Linked DNA regions of Homo sapiens: all the other regions are linked to region 3. Evidence: promoter capture Hi-C in human tissues and cell types (Jung and others, 2019). All regions are on one chromosome and are shown on one strand. Each heading gives the region's core, a stretch centred on a gene start or on the middle of the fragment in contact. The rest is flanking DNA. Distances are from core to core; before and after follow the strand shown.

Region 1 (4,478 bases), core at 903-3,402, 67 kb after region 3:
AGAGTGGGGCAAGAGAGTCCAGACAGAGTATGGCAATGTGGGACGGTCCCAGGGCAAGCCCAGGGCTCCAGAGACTGGACATCCAGGTGGCTGGTTGTGTGTGGAGGGAGGAAGTGGAGAGGCTGGAGGCCACACAGAAACACAATAAACGTCTGGATTTTGCTCTGAGGCTGCAGGAGCCATGGATATGTAACCAGTGGGGTGGGGGGCTAGACACACAGTGGGTCTTGTGCTGAGAAGGGACAGCATGGAGGCAGGACACTTAGGGCAGACACAGGTCCGGGGACTCTGGTGCTGGTACCACTGCCTGGGCAGCAGTGTATGGTGGGATGTGAAAAATACCTGCTATCCTGGAACCTTCCCCGCAGCCCCCAGGGACAGTGAGCCCTGTCCCAGTGGACGAGTGTGGGCTGGGGAGGCTTTTGTGAATTCTGTTGTGGAAATCCATCTTCACCCTGGGAAATCGAGTGCCCTTCAAAGGCCCATGCTGGAGTTCGCCTTAATCTGGGCAGACACCTTGTGGTTGCATGTCCAGCTCATGTCATTTAAAAATTCTCTTTGAGATATCCCAGGGCTGGGGTTGCTTTGTAGCTTAGGAAATCCACAAAGGACTCAATTTCAACAGGGACTGGGCCCATCATGGCACACTGCTGAAAGGCCTGTCCACGAGGAAGCTCCAGACATACCACAGGCCCTCGGCGTCCTGCGACAGCCAACACTGGTGGTGGTGGTGTGTAGCAGTGGGCCATGTGTCCAGGTTTGGGAGGGGAGGCAGTTTCTAAGTGAGAGGCCCCCATCTCCCAGCGCCTCCCACCTGGAACCAGGATGCACAAAGGCATTTAGACACTTGCATCTGTGTCTGTCTTCCATGCGGGACGATTCGGCAGCTCTGGGGGTTTCTGAGGCTGGAAGGACTTCCCTGAGCAGTGGCCAAGCCAAGGGGTGGCTTAGGGGAACGTTTTTGTTGTTGTAGAGACAGAGTCTCCCTGTGTTGCCCAGGCTGGTCTCAAACTCCTGGGCTCAAGCGATCCTTCCACCTCAGCCTCCCAAAGTGCTGGGATTACAGGTGTGAGCCACTGCACCTGGCTGGCTTCAGAAAACTTAAACCCACCTCAAATCTCCACCAGCCCCCTCCAACCCCCTAGTTAAATGTATGGTCCAGGTAAAGACAATGTGCCTGTTCTTCAGCTTCAAAACCAGCCCCAGCCCCTGCTCCTAAGGCAGACTGCCAGCCCCCTAGCCTGTCAAGCCCTCCCCAATCTGGTGACCTGACTAGACAAGCAGTGGGCCTGGGATCCTCTGAGCTAGCCCACACCTGAAGCTTCCGGAGAGCCAAGCCCAGCTGATGGGGGCCCAGCTTGTCCCAAGGTGGTGGAGGTGGTGGTTTCAGCCTGGCGCCTCCACCCCCTCTTGCCTGCCTCCTCACAGACCCATTGTGTCCCAGCTTCAGAAGTCACCGTCTGCCCCCTTCTGGTGGCTGGAAATTCTCAGGAAGCCTCCGATGGCAGGAACTCCAGCACAGGTAATGGGGTGAAGGTGCAGGGCTCCACCACCTCCCTGTGCCCCTCCCCAACCCTGACTGTGGCAATTGGTTGCCCACCTTATCAGGACAGGAGCCACAAAGGTATGCCTTTCACCTTCCCTAAATACTGTCATATACAAGTCACAGAAACAGGATGGAAACGAGGGACATTCTCCACCTTGAATCTTGCGGTCCATTGCCAGGCCAGCCTCCCTTCAGTGACCTATAAATCAATTTAAAAAATAATATGCTAAGTACCCTGGCATAGTTAAATCACACCATTTGTGTGTTAGAAGCATTAATCTGTGAAAGCTATTTATGTAAGTACACTACAAAGGTGGAAATTTGTGTTGATGCTTCTTCATTTTTACCACATAGGAACACTCAAAACTGGAAACAGCCTGGCCTTGCATGCCGCCCAGGACCAGGCACCAACTGAGACATGTAGATGGAGGGGCTTTGTCTCAGAAAGGCCTGGAGCCCAGGACAGAATCTCCCTGTGTTGGCTCTCCGGAAGCTTCAAGTGTGGTCTGGCTCAGAGGATCCCAGCCCCACTCCTTGTCTCATCAGCTCACTGAGTAGGGGCAGGCTGGACAGGCTAGGAGATTGGCAGTCTGCCTTAGGAGCAGGGGCTGAGGGCTTGTCTTGAAGCTGAAGAACAGGCACACCGTCTTTACCTGAACCATAAATTTCACTCAGGGGTTGGAGGGGCTGGGGGAGATGTGAGATGGGTTTAAGTTTTCCTAGGCCAGCCAGGTGTGGTGGCTCACACTTGTAATCCCAGCACTTTAAGAGGCCGAGGTGGGAGGATCACTTGCCCAGAAGCTTGACACCAGCCTGGGTAACACAGGGAGACCCTGACTCTACAACCACAACAAAACTGTTCCCCTAAGCCACCTCTTGGCTTGGCCACTGCTCAGGGAAGCCCTTCCAGCCTCAGAGAGACCAGAGCCTAAAAGCTAGGACCCAGGGCTCTGGGGTGAGCAGATCTGGGCTCAAGGGCAGCCTTCTTCGATGACCAGCTGTGTGGCATTGAGCAACTGACTCAACCTCACTGCGTCTAGTTTGCTCATCTGTAAAATGGAGCCTTCCGGATCCAGTAGCAGGGAGGTTTGGAGGGGATTGCAAGTGTAAAGCACGCAGCTCTGGGCGAAAGCCCAGGGAATAGGAGCAACCTCTGTGAGAGCTCCACATGCTGGCCCTGAGCATGCTTTCACTGTGACACAACGAGGGTTAGACCCACGATCTCTCTGCCATGGACGAGGCAGCTGGAGATGAAAGCCAGGATTTGCCCAAGCAAATAGCCGGAGAGCTGCAGTGCCACGATGCCGCCCTTTACTTTTGGATTCCAAGACCACTGATCTTTCCTCGTCCCATGCCTGCTTTCCAGGTGACTTGGTCTGCTTTCCTTTTCCCATTCAGTTCACAGAGCACCGGGCAAGTGCCAGGTAGGGTGCCCAGGCCTGTAGGGGAGGGAGGACCGATTGGGCTCCAGCTCCCCAGGACTCATATTCTCCAGAAGAGAAGACAGAAAGACAGACGGATGCTCAAGCAGCTGCGTACCAGGTAGGTGCTGCTCAGCACGATCGCCAGGCAAGGCTGCGCAGGTAATGTGGCTCGGAGGGCGTGCAGGTCAGCCCCAGGTGTGGGGAGTCAGGAGGGAGGTCCTCAGGTTCTAGGAAAGAGAGAGAGGCACAGACACAGCCCATTTTCTGACAGAGTTGAGAGTTTGTCTTTCCGGAAGGAGGTGGCTGGCTGCACACGGCCCACTGCACAATTCTTAGAGGATGTCAGTCAAGTGATAAACACCCAGTCAAACAGGATTCAGTATGAAAGGGGGTCGCTGGTTCTAGTATCTGAAAATGCCAGGGTGCGGCTGCCTTCCAGCACCAGGACCCAGGGCCTCAGACAATCATATCAGGAACCTGCTCCTTGCCTGCGCTGTCCTCTGTGTCTTCACTCTCAGGCAGGTTCACCATCCTCTCCCTTAGGTTGTTCCCTACCCGATCCCAGTTCGAGGATGACGTCCTAAGGGTTTGGCAGTCCCACCAGAAAAGGTACATCTGCAGGGTTCCCAGGAAGTCCTGGCAGAAGTCCTGAGGAGAGCTCTCATTGGACTAGCTGGAATCACGGGACCATCCCTGAACCAATCACCAAGGCTAAGCCAACGGAATATGCTGATTGGCCAGGCCCAAGTCACATGACGGCCTCTGTAGCCAGGGCTTGGGAAGTCAGTCCCTGGGGTTGAGATGTTCCAAAGGGCTGTGAACCGAAAATCCCTGCAGAAGGAAACCACACATGTCCACTGCAAAAAGTGGTGTTTTGTTATCCTTGAGTTGTTGTGTGTTCATTTGTTTGGCTCTTTCATGCCTAGAAGTTGATATTTTATGCTCAAACACAGAAAAAAGTACAAGCACCAATTGGCAACCTGTGGACTGAGACCCCTGACACTGGCTGCTTGAAAAAGGCCCCAGGGTGGACAAGAGCTGCACCACTGAATCTCCAATCCCAGAACACCAGGCTTTTGGCCCCATGCAGATCTGGGGCTGCCCAGACACCCATAGCTCCCTGGACAGCCTGGGTCTTAGCTCCTGGCATCCCACCCCTGGCAACCTGGACCCATGAAGCCCCAACACTGATGCATCTTCTACTCTAAGAAGGAGTTCAGGGTGCGCTGTGCTTCTAGGAAAAAGACTGATCTATGATGCATATTTTCTCACATGATATTTTAAAGTTCCTTAAATTAGTATCTGTTTTACAATTATTAAGCACCTTTCACAGCAGGATAGCTCTTTTTCTCCTCTCAGCTCCTACCCATTCCCCAACAAAATCTGTCACTAGGTAGATGAGATCTTAGTAGCAAAGAAGTAGGGTATAAGTTTTAAAAAACTGTTCTGACTGCAGAAAATCCAAAAGAATGGAACAAAAATTCCTCTTGAAATTAAGCAATTATAGC
Region 2 (3,916 bases), core at 711-3,210, 98 kb before region 3:
TTAGCCATTCTTAGAGTGGAGTTTTCTCCTATAACTCTGTTAATCCTCGAGTTACACTGCCCAGATGCTGATGGTAATAAAATGCCCAAAGGACTTCAGGTCTGAGCTGCAGCCACATCAATGCATCAGCCAACAAGTGTTGCCGGAATGCCTGCCACCCGAAGACCCTGTGCTAGGGACCCGGTGGAGTCAGAGACGGCCCTGCCTCGGAGGAGATCATGAAATCTTCCTACTGGAAAGGAACTGGGTGAGTGGCTGATTGAGGCAGAAAGAATGATGCAGGGGCCAGACTGAAAGCCAGGCTGAGTCCAAGGTTCAGGTAGAAGAAATAGGGAGCCACTGGAGGTTTGTGAGTGAGGGAGGGGAGGCAAATGCAGTGTTTAAGCAAAATTAGATGACAGCCCACAGAGATGACTGGAAGGTTTCAGAGACAAGGGTTTTCAAAACGGACTTGCTGTTTTGAATCCTGGGGGCAGCCTGCATCAGCCCAGGCCGCCTATCACCAGTTACGACAGCCTGTGAGGTCTAAGAGGCTCTAAGTGTGTGGCCCACCACTATCTTAATGACAGCTCTCTCTTTGGAGGGACTGTCATTTTATTAAACACACATACAGACATTAAAATGCTTCCCAATTTCAGAAATGTTAGGCAATGACAAAATACACATCTTAGAATGAAAACAGCATGAACATCAAGCGCTTGGAAAACAGCCTTTTGGAAGGCCAGTCCCCGCCACACTGATACGGAATTGGACCCCTCCCCGGAGTTCCAACACTGGCCTAGACAAAGAGCACCCGGACTGCCACAGATGACTCCATGGCACCTTTCAGGGGCATCTTCCCACCAAATGCGTGTCTCGAAAGGTCCCTGCCCATCCCTTAAGCTTGGACCCAGGGAAGCTTCAAGTTGGAAGGGACCTAAGAGACCACCTCATCCAGCCCAGCTCTCACCTGCATGGAAAGGAGGAGGTGGCAACCATCACCACCTCCCAGGGCACACGGGCAAAAAGGCACGGGTCATGGGTGGGCTGAGAACAGGGGGAAGCACCCATGATGAGTTCGGACACTTGTGAGCACCCCTGAGGACAAGTCCATTGCGAGATGGCGGGGGGAAGCCAGCATGCGCGGGGAGGGGCAGACATGAACAGGCCTCAGAACCCATGTCCACATGGCTGCATAATTCCTTGTTTTCTTCTAGAGTGTGTGGCACTTTTAAAAGCCAAAGTCCTGCCAAAAGACAGAAACCCCACCTAACTATAGTGAGAAGTCCCATTTTGTGTCACCAACACACAATAGACAACTGGCCCTGTGCAAGTGTTTTTGTTTTTCTTATAAATTACTTGTCACGATGCACAATGACAGTTATTTCTTTTCCATTACGCTGTGCAATGTTGGGACTGAATCCAACACTCCTGTGTCCTCCACAACAAAGACAAAAAAATAGACTTTTAATCAACGCTTATTTATAAATGAGGCCAAGAATTTCCATTCTCATTTTTTCCTGTTTCCATGTGCTATTGGAGATTCCATAGGTTCGTGATGCTCTTCCTGACTCAGCTTAAAACTGGCTACACCGACATCTCCTACAGTCTGAACTTCTAACAAAGGGAGCCTTCAGTAATGAGTCATAAAACCACTATCCTGTTCCCATGTAGAGAAGATTAGGTGAATAAGGAGGCCAGCCCCCTGCTCCTACCAACAGCAAGGCTTGATCAGCCACCTGCTTGAAGTTAAGTTTCCAGGACATGAGGAGCACCTGCATGGTGAGGACTGCAGAATGCTGTTGACCCAGCATTTGAAAATCACCATAGCCCTCTCCCATAGAACTCACCTGTCAGTAACTTCTAAAATTCAACACATCCCTCAGGCTATTGTGGACACCCAAACCAAGCCAGACACGTGACCACCTGCCTCCAAATCCCCCTTGGGTGGGGTGAGGAGCCCGGCTCAGCAGGAAATACACCCCTGTCATCAATTCTGGTGAAGAAAGGCCTCAAAGACAAACACCCCACGTGCCCTGGACAGCCCCAACAGCAAACTCAGGTTTCCCTGCCGTGGCAGGTGGGAGATTAATTTCCCCCAGTGTACTGAAGGGGAAAGAAAGGGAAAGAAAGAATGACGCACAGGATCTCCTTTCCCCTCATGTTAATCCTCCCCTGACCCGCCCTCGGCTCCTCCCCTCCACACTGTTGGTCCCCCTGCCTGTGGTCACCCTGGTTCAGGACTGCGGTACCTCCTCCCCAGGTGACTGTAAAACATCCCTGGCATCTCCAGCCTCTCATCAAACTCTGAGTGAACACCTGCTAAATGGTAGGCACTTCCTGCCTCGCCTTCACCTGCCAAAGGTAGAAAATGGTTTACCCGGGAGCCTAATCACCAGAAGCTTCCAGATCAGGAATTGTTAGAAAGGAATTTGTTTTTTTGAGACAGGGTCTCGCTCTGTCACCGAGGCTGGAGTGCAGTGGCATGATCTTAGCTCACTACAACCTCCGCCTCCTGGGTTCATGCGATTCTCCTGCCTCGGCCTCCCGAGTAGCTGGGATTATAGGCACCCGCCACCATGCCTGGCTAATCTTTGTATTTTTAATAGAGACAGGGTTTCGTCATGTTGGCCAGGCTGGTCTGGAACTCCTGGACTCAAGTGATCCACCCCCCTCAGCCTCCCAAAGTATTGGGATTACAGGGGTGAGCCACTGCGCCTGACCAAAAGAATTTTTAAAATAATCAGCTGGGCATGGTGACTCACACCTGTAATTCCAGCTACTTGGAGGGCTAAGTAGGGAGAATCGCTTGAAGCCAGGACTTCAAGACCAACCTGAACCACATAGTAAGACCCCATCTCTACAAAAATTTTAAAAAATATCCAGGCATGGTGGCATGCACCTGCAGTCCCAGCTACTAGGGAGGCTGAGATGAGAGGATCGCTTGAGTCTAGGAGTTTGAAGCTGCAGTGAGCTATGATGGCACCACTGCACTCCCAGCCTGGGCGACAGAGTGGTCTCCAAAAAAAGTAAAATAATCATCACTACAAAAAAAAATTACTCCCTCATGTTCCTTAAAGAATGGCACTCCAAGTCTAAATTATAGTGGCAAGGGGTACACACGTGAGTGACAGAACTTTAAAACAAAGCAAGGGTGTGATCACCATAAAAGTCAAGCTAGTGATTCTTTCTGGAAGGAGAAACAGGGATGGGGAACAAGGATAAGCCTTCCGAAGTAGCTTGCAAAGTTCTATTTCTAGACCTGGGAAGTGGTTTCAATGGCGTTCACCTTATAAAAATTCACTAAGTTCTACATTGACTTTGTGGGTTTCTAGATCTGTGTTTCATTTTGCAATAAAACCATATTTTTAAAAAAATAATAAAAGGAAAGCTTGCTGGCTGGGCATGGTGGCTGTGGCTCACGCCTGTAATCCCAGCACCTTGGGAGGCCAAGACGGGCAGATCACGAGGCCAGGAGTTCGAGACCATCTTGGCCAACACGGTGAAACCCCATCTCTACTAAAAATACAAAAAATCAGCTGGGTGTGTTGGTGCACACCTGTAATTCCAGCTACTCGGGAGGCTGGGGCAGGAGAATCGCTTGAACCCGGGAGGCGGAGGTTGCGGTGAGCCAAGATCGAGCCACTGCACTCCAGCCTGGGTGACAGGGCGAGACGCCACCTCAGAAAAAAAAAAAAGGAAAGCTTGCTATCCCCTTGCCTAGGTGCAATGCAACCCAAGAGCCAGCGAATGGCTGCAGGGTGACATCTAGCCAGCCCAGGGTCAACTTACAGATAGGTGCTACAGACCCTAACAGACAACCCTGGCGGGACCACAGCAGCCTCAGGAGCAGCACATACTCATGAAAGTTCTCAGCCAGGAGTGCGCTTTGCAGGGCAATGGCTGTTGAAAAGCATGGAGTTGCACTTCTGCAAAT
Region 3 (4,097 bases), core at 1,314-3,813:
GATATTTACAACACCGAGTCTCGAAATGCCTCCACTGGTCTCCTGTTCACCTTGCTGCCTTTCTCCTACCAACCTGCTTGAACTGTCTGCTACACATACACACATACACATTTGAGAGAGGCACTCACTAAAAATCATTTCAAGGCTCATTTCATGAAAGGCTGAAGACCAATTCTTGAGTCCTTCTCAGAGATCCACAGAGTGGTTTTAGAACTCGGTTCAAGCAACTTTGAAACACCCACCCATCTGTTCACTGCAAACTGCTCTCCTTTTGCTTTCTGGGTCTCGCCGTCTAACGTAAGGAGGTTTGGAGAAGTGGATTGGAAGTCTAGGTAAGCAAGCTTTGCAAACTCAAAATCAACTGCCTGAGTTAAATAAAACTGTTTTTCCAACCAGAAATTCCAATTCCACATTTTCTTCTGGGTCGCCTCTTAAGTGGCTCCTGAAGGAGTGAGCAGTGAGCCAGGGAAAGAGAAAAGAAATCCAGTATTATTTCAAGCCGTACAGCCCTTCCATCAGCAAAAGAGAAACATCCACCCTTCTTTCCCGTCCTCTTCTTGGAGTCTCTCTTCTGGTTTCCCTGTCCCCCAATCAGAACACCCTCTGAACCCCCAGTTCTGTGGAGCAGGCCAGGCTGTCCCGGATTGGGAGACCAGCCAGGGTGAGGCGAACAAGACCAACTTCTCTCAGGGAAAAGGAGGAGTAGGAACGGGCCGGGCGCTCCGTTTGGACTCAGTTGGTCTCCTTCTAATATGACGGGGAGGATCTCTGCTGGGCCGGGGGCAGTCCCTCCGGGGACTTCAGGAGGACAGAACTGACGAGTGTCTCAAGATCCTCCTTGCCAGATTCAGTTCCAGCCATTCCAGCCAGGCGCAAGGCTGGCAGGAAGGGAGCGGGGCCCCAGCGCCTTCCCGCGCAGGCCTCCAGGAAATGAACTTTTCAGAGCAGAACTGGGCTCAGGCCAGAGGTCATCAGGGGAGATGGGAGAAGACAAGGGCCTGGGGGCTTTTGGCTCCGTAGACTTAGCCGCTCTCATCGTTCCCCCCTTCCTCGATCATCTCCCATCTCACAGCCGAGCGCCCGGGCACCCAACCGAGGGGCTAGAATCGGGACAAAGCAGCAGGCAAGGCCTGGAAAGGCCAGCCGCGGGGAGAGGAGGCCAGGGGAGGGGCTCTGCTGCCGGCGCGCGGCCTTTCCCCGGGGCCTCTACTCTCCAGGGGTCCCCTCGAGCTGGGGGCCCTCGCTGGAAATAGAAAGCAAAGCGTGGAGACGAAGGGATGGGTGTGTGTATCTATATATCTGCAGCTCCCCACAAACGCGCGCACCCCGGGGAGCCAGCACAGAAAGCCGGCCTGGGTGTCGAGGGTGCCGGTGCCCGGGGTCAGATCCAGGGTGCCGGTGCCCGGGGTCAGATCCGGGGCGCCCTCCGCGGAGGGGCGCGCACCGCGGCCGCTGAGCTCCCCTGAGGACCTGCGTCCCGCCGGCGCCGTGCAGACAATGAACTCCTGGCGGAGGCTCCCTGCCCGGTGGGCCTCGGTGGAGGAGGCAGGAAGTGCAGGGGCCCGGGCCGGGAGAAGGCCTGGGCAGGGGCGGGAGGGGGCGCCAGGCGGCCGGGGCGAGGGCGCGGCGCCCGGGGCGCTCGCCGACAGCGCCCGCCGCTCCCCGCGTCCTCGGGCGACCAGGCAGGGGCCAGAGAGAGCCAGCGAGGCCCGGGGCCAGCGAGGAGCGGTCGGCCTGCCGGGCGCCCGTCCTCGCCGCCTCTTCCTTCCTCCTGTCGCCCGCCCGCCGCCGCCGAGATTCGCAATCCCCGCCAAGTCGGGCCAGCACCCCTTGATTGGCCACACGGGCCCGGGCCCCGCACGGAGGGAGCGGCAAGGGCCCCTTAGCGGCGCCCCCAGGCCTGGGTCCCCCAAGGGCGACGGCGCCGAGTCCGGGCAGGGAGGGTGTCCGCGGCGTACCCCCTCCGCCGCCGCCGCCGCCGCCGCCGCCTCCGCCTCCTGCTCCCGGCTTCCTCCTCCCCCTCCTCCGCCTCCGCCTCCGCCTCCGCCTCCTCTGCCGCCTCCTCCTCCTCCTCTCGGCTCGCTCGCGCGGGTCCCCGGCAGCCAGCCCGCTCGCCGGTCCCTCCTCCCTCGCTCCCTCCCTCCTCGCTCGCTCGCTCGCGCCTCCGCCGGGCCTCGCTCGCTCACCTTTCACCGAGCGCGGCTTCGCCTGCTTCCGCCTGGACATGTCCGGGGCTCCGGGCGCTCCGTCGCCCTCCGCAGCCGGCTCCCCCCGCCGCCCCCCGCCGCTCCGGGCAGCCCTTCTCCCCCTTCTCCTCCGCCTGTCTCTTGGAAACTTTTTTTTTTGCAGCCCGGTTGGCGGCTGTGGGGAGCGGACCGCAGGTCCGGGGCGGCCTCCCTTGGGGGGGCAGCCCGGGCCGGCCGAGGCCGCTCGAAGGCGGGGGGAGGCCCGGGGGGCGCGCCGGGGCCCTGCCTGTTGCAATGCGGCAGTCCGGGGCTCCCGATCCAAGCGGCGGTCCCAGCGGCGCGGGGAGTCCGGAGGCCACTCGGCCGAGCCGAGTTATGCAAAAAAAAAAAAAAAAAAAAAAAAAAAAAAGCCGCCCCCCTCCTCCTCCCAACCCCCCGCCGGCCCCCGGCCCCTGCGGCCCCCTCCTTCCCTCCCCCACCCTACCGCCACCCTCACCCTCCTCCTCCTTCTCCTCCTCCTCCGCCCCTTGCCGGATTTTTGTGCAAAGTTTGCAGGCGTCCGGCCACGCAGCCCGGTGCGGAGCTCACAATGAACCCATCTGAGGAGGGGGAACGGGGCTGGAGTCGAGGGTATCTCAAGGGGGGAGGAGACCGGGAGGCGGTCGGGAGCGCGGAAGCTCAGTACCCCCCAGGAAAAAAAAAAAAAAGAAGCCTTCGAATTATCCCCTGCCGCACAAAAAAAAATAATAAATATTAATGGCTCAAAAATGCCCAAGCGCCTGGTTTGGAGATTATGATGGATGGGGGGCGGGGGTCCCTCAACTCAGCCTACTTGGAGGGGAGGCTCGAAACGGCCGCAGTGGCTCGGAAGCCGCGGCTCGGGGCCCCTGGCTCACGCCCCCTTCTCTGGCTCTCGGATCGGCCCGGCGCCGGCCCCCCGGAGGAGGAAGGGGCGCGCGGGGGCGCTCAGGCGGCGGCCGGCAGGCGCGCCCGTGCCCCGGGCATCGCTCAGCCCGTGCGCCGGGCCGCCGCTGCCTGCCCTCGGGCTGCGGTGCTCAGCGCGAGGCGCGCAGCCGATCCCCAGGCCGGTGCCAAGTCGCCGGCCCCGCTAGCTGCCTCCATGGGCCAGGGGCTCGGAGAGGGGGGAGGCGGCGGCCGCGGTGGCGGAAGAGGAGGACGAGCAGGCGGCGGCGGCGGCGGCCGGGCTCCCGTCCTCCTGGGCAGCGGCGGCGGCGGCTGCGCCCCGGCTCCTCCGCGCTCCAGCCGGCGCCGGCCCGCCCGCCAGCCTCCCTCGCGCTCCTGTCTTCTTTGTGGTCGCTGGCTCTCCTCCTCCCGATCCGGCTGCTGGGGCTGCACTGCAGAGACACATAATAAAGCCAGGCTTGGCTGGAAATGTAGCCGGGTCCCAGCAGGAGGATGTGAGGAGCGGAGTCCCGGCGGGGGAGCGCTCTGATCCCGTGGGGCGCCCCGCACTGCTCCGGCTCGGATCAGACGGAGAGAGGGCCAACAGCACCGAGCGATGGACAGCGCTGGAAATACAGCTCCGGCCGCCCGCAAAACCCGGACCGTGGTGGCGGCGGCGGCGGCGGCGGCAGGCACGGCGCGGGCGCGGGCACCGCACCAGCACGCGGGGCCGGGGCTCGGGCGCTGGCTGCACCGGGGGCAGGAGGAGGGAACACACTTAGGGCCCACGCGGCTGTCAAGCTCGCCAAGACGCATGAGCCTCACAAACTGTAAAAAGTGAAAGAATGGGGGAGCAAACGGAGTTGGGCTGCCCTAGTATTGCCACCTCGCGATGTATGCCTCACGCACATGAACTATCCAGGGACCTGGCTCTGCCAGGTTGGCTTTTGCCCACCGGTCGGTGTTCAAAGACCACCCCTGCCCCACATCCAACAAATTCTTCCACCA

What was found. Contacts are between HindIII fragments. The study calls those that stand out against the background at their distance.
Region 1: a fragment that was not itself captured here is called in contact with the fragment with the promoter of ZNF423 in region 3 in 2 of the 25 tissues and cell types used here (H1 embryonic stem cells and mesenchymal stem cells).
Region 2: a fragment that was not itself captured here is called in contact with the fragment with the promoter of ZNF423 in region 3 in 6 of the 25 tissues and cell types used here (H1 embryonic stem cells, adrenal gland, dorsolateral prefrontal cortex and 3 more).

What each region holds. Positions count from the first base shown.
Region 1 is chr16:49,920,569-49,925,046 of GRCh38, forward strand. No RefSeq gene overlaps it. Among named protein-coding and RNA genes, the nearest start is that of ZNF423, 67 kb to the left of the region's middle. RefSeq lists an enhancer at 1,038-1,769 and silencers at 2,446-2,629, 3,612-3,784. The HindIII fragment of the contact is 3,414 bases long and covers 446-3,859 here.
Region 2 is chr16:49,755,736-49,759,651 of GRCh38, forward strand. All of the region lies in intron 2 of ZNF423 (zinc finger protein 423), which reads right to left. Among named protein-coding and RNA genes, the nearest start is that of ZNF423, 98 kb to the right of the region's middle. The HindIII fragment of the contact is 3,131 bases long and covers 396-3,526 here.
Region 3 is chr16:49,853,549-49,857,645 of GRCh38, forward strand. It overlaps ZNF423 (zinc finger protein 423), which reads right to left and starts at 2,564. Exons shown (of 8, transcript NM_001379286.1): 1 at 2,187-2,564. The coding sequence starts at 2,226. RefSeq lists a silencer at 1,808-2,067. The HindIII fragment of the contact is 13,140 bases long and covers 1-4,097 here.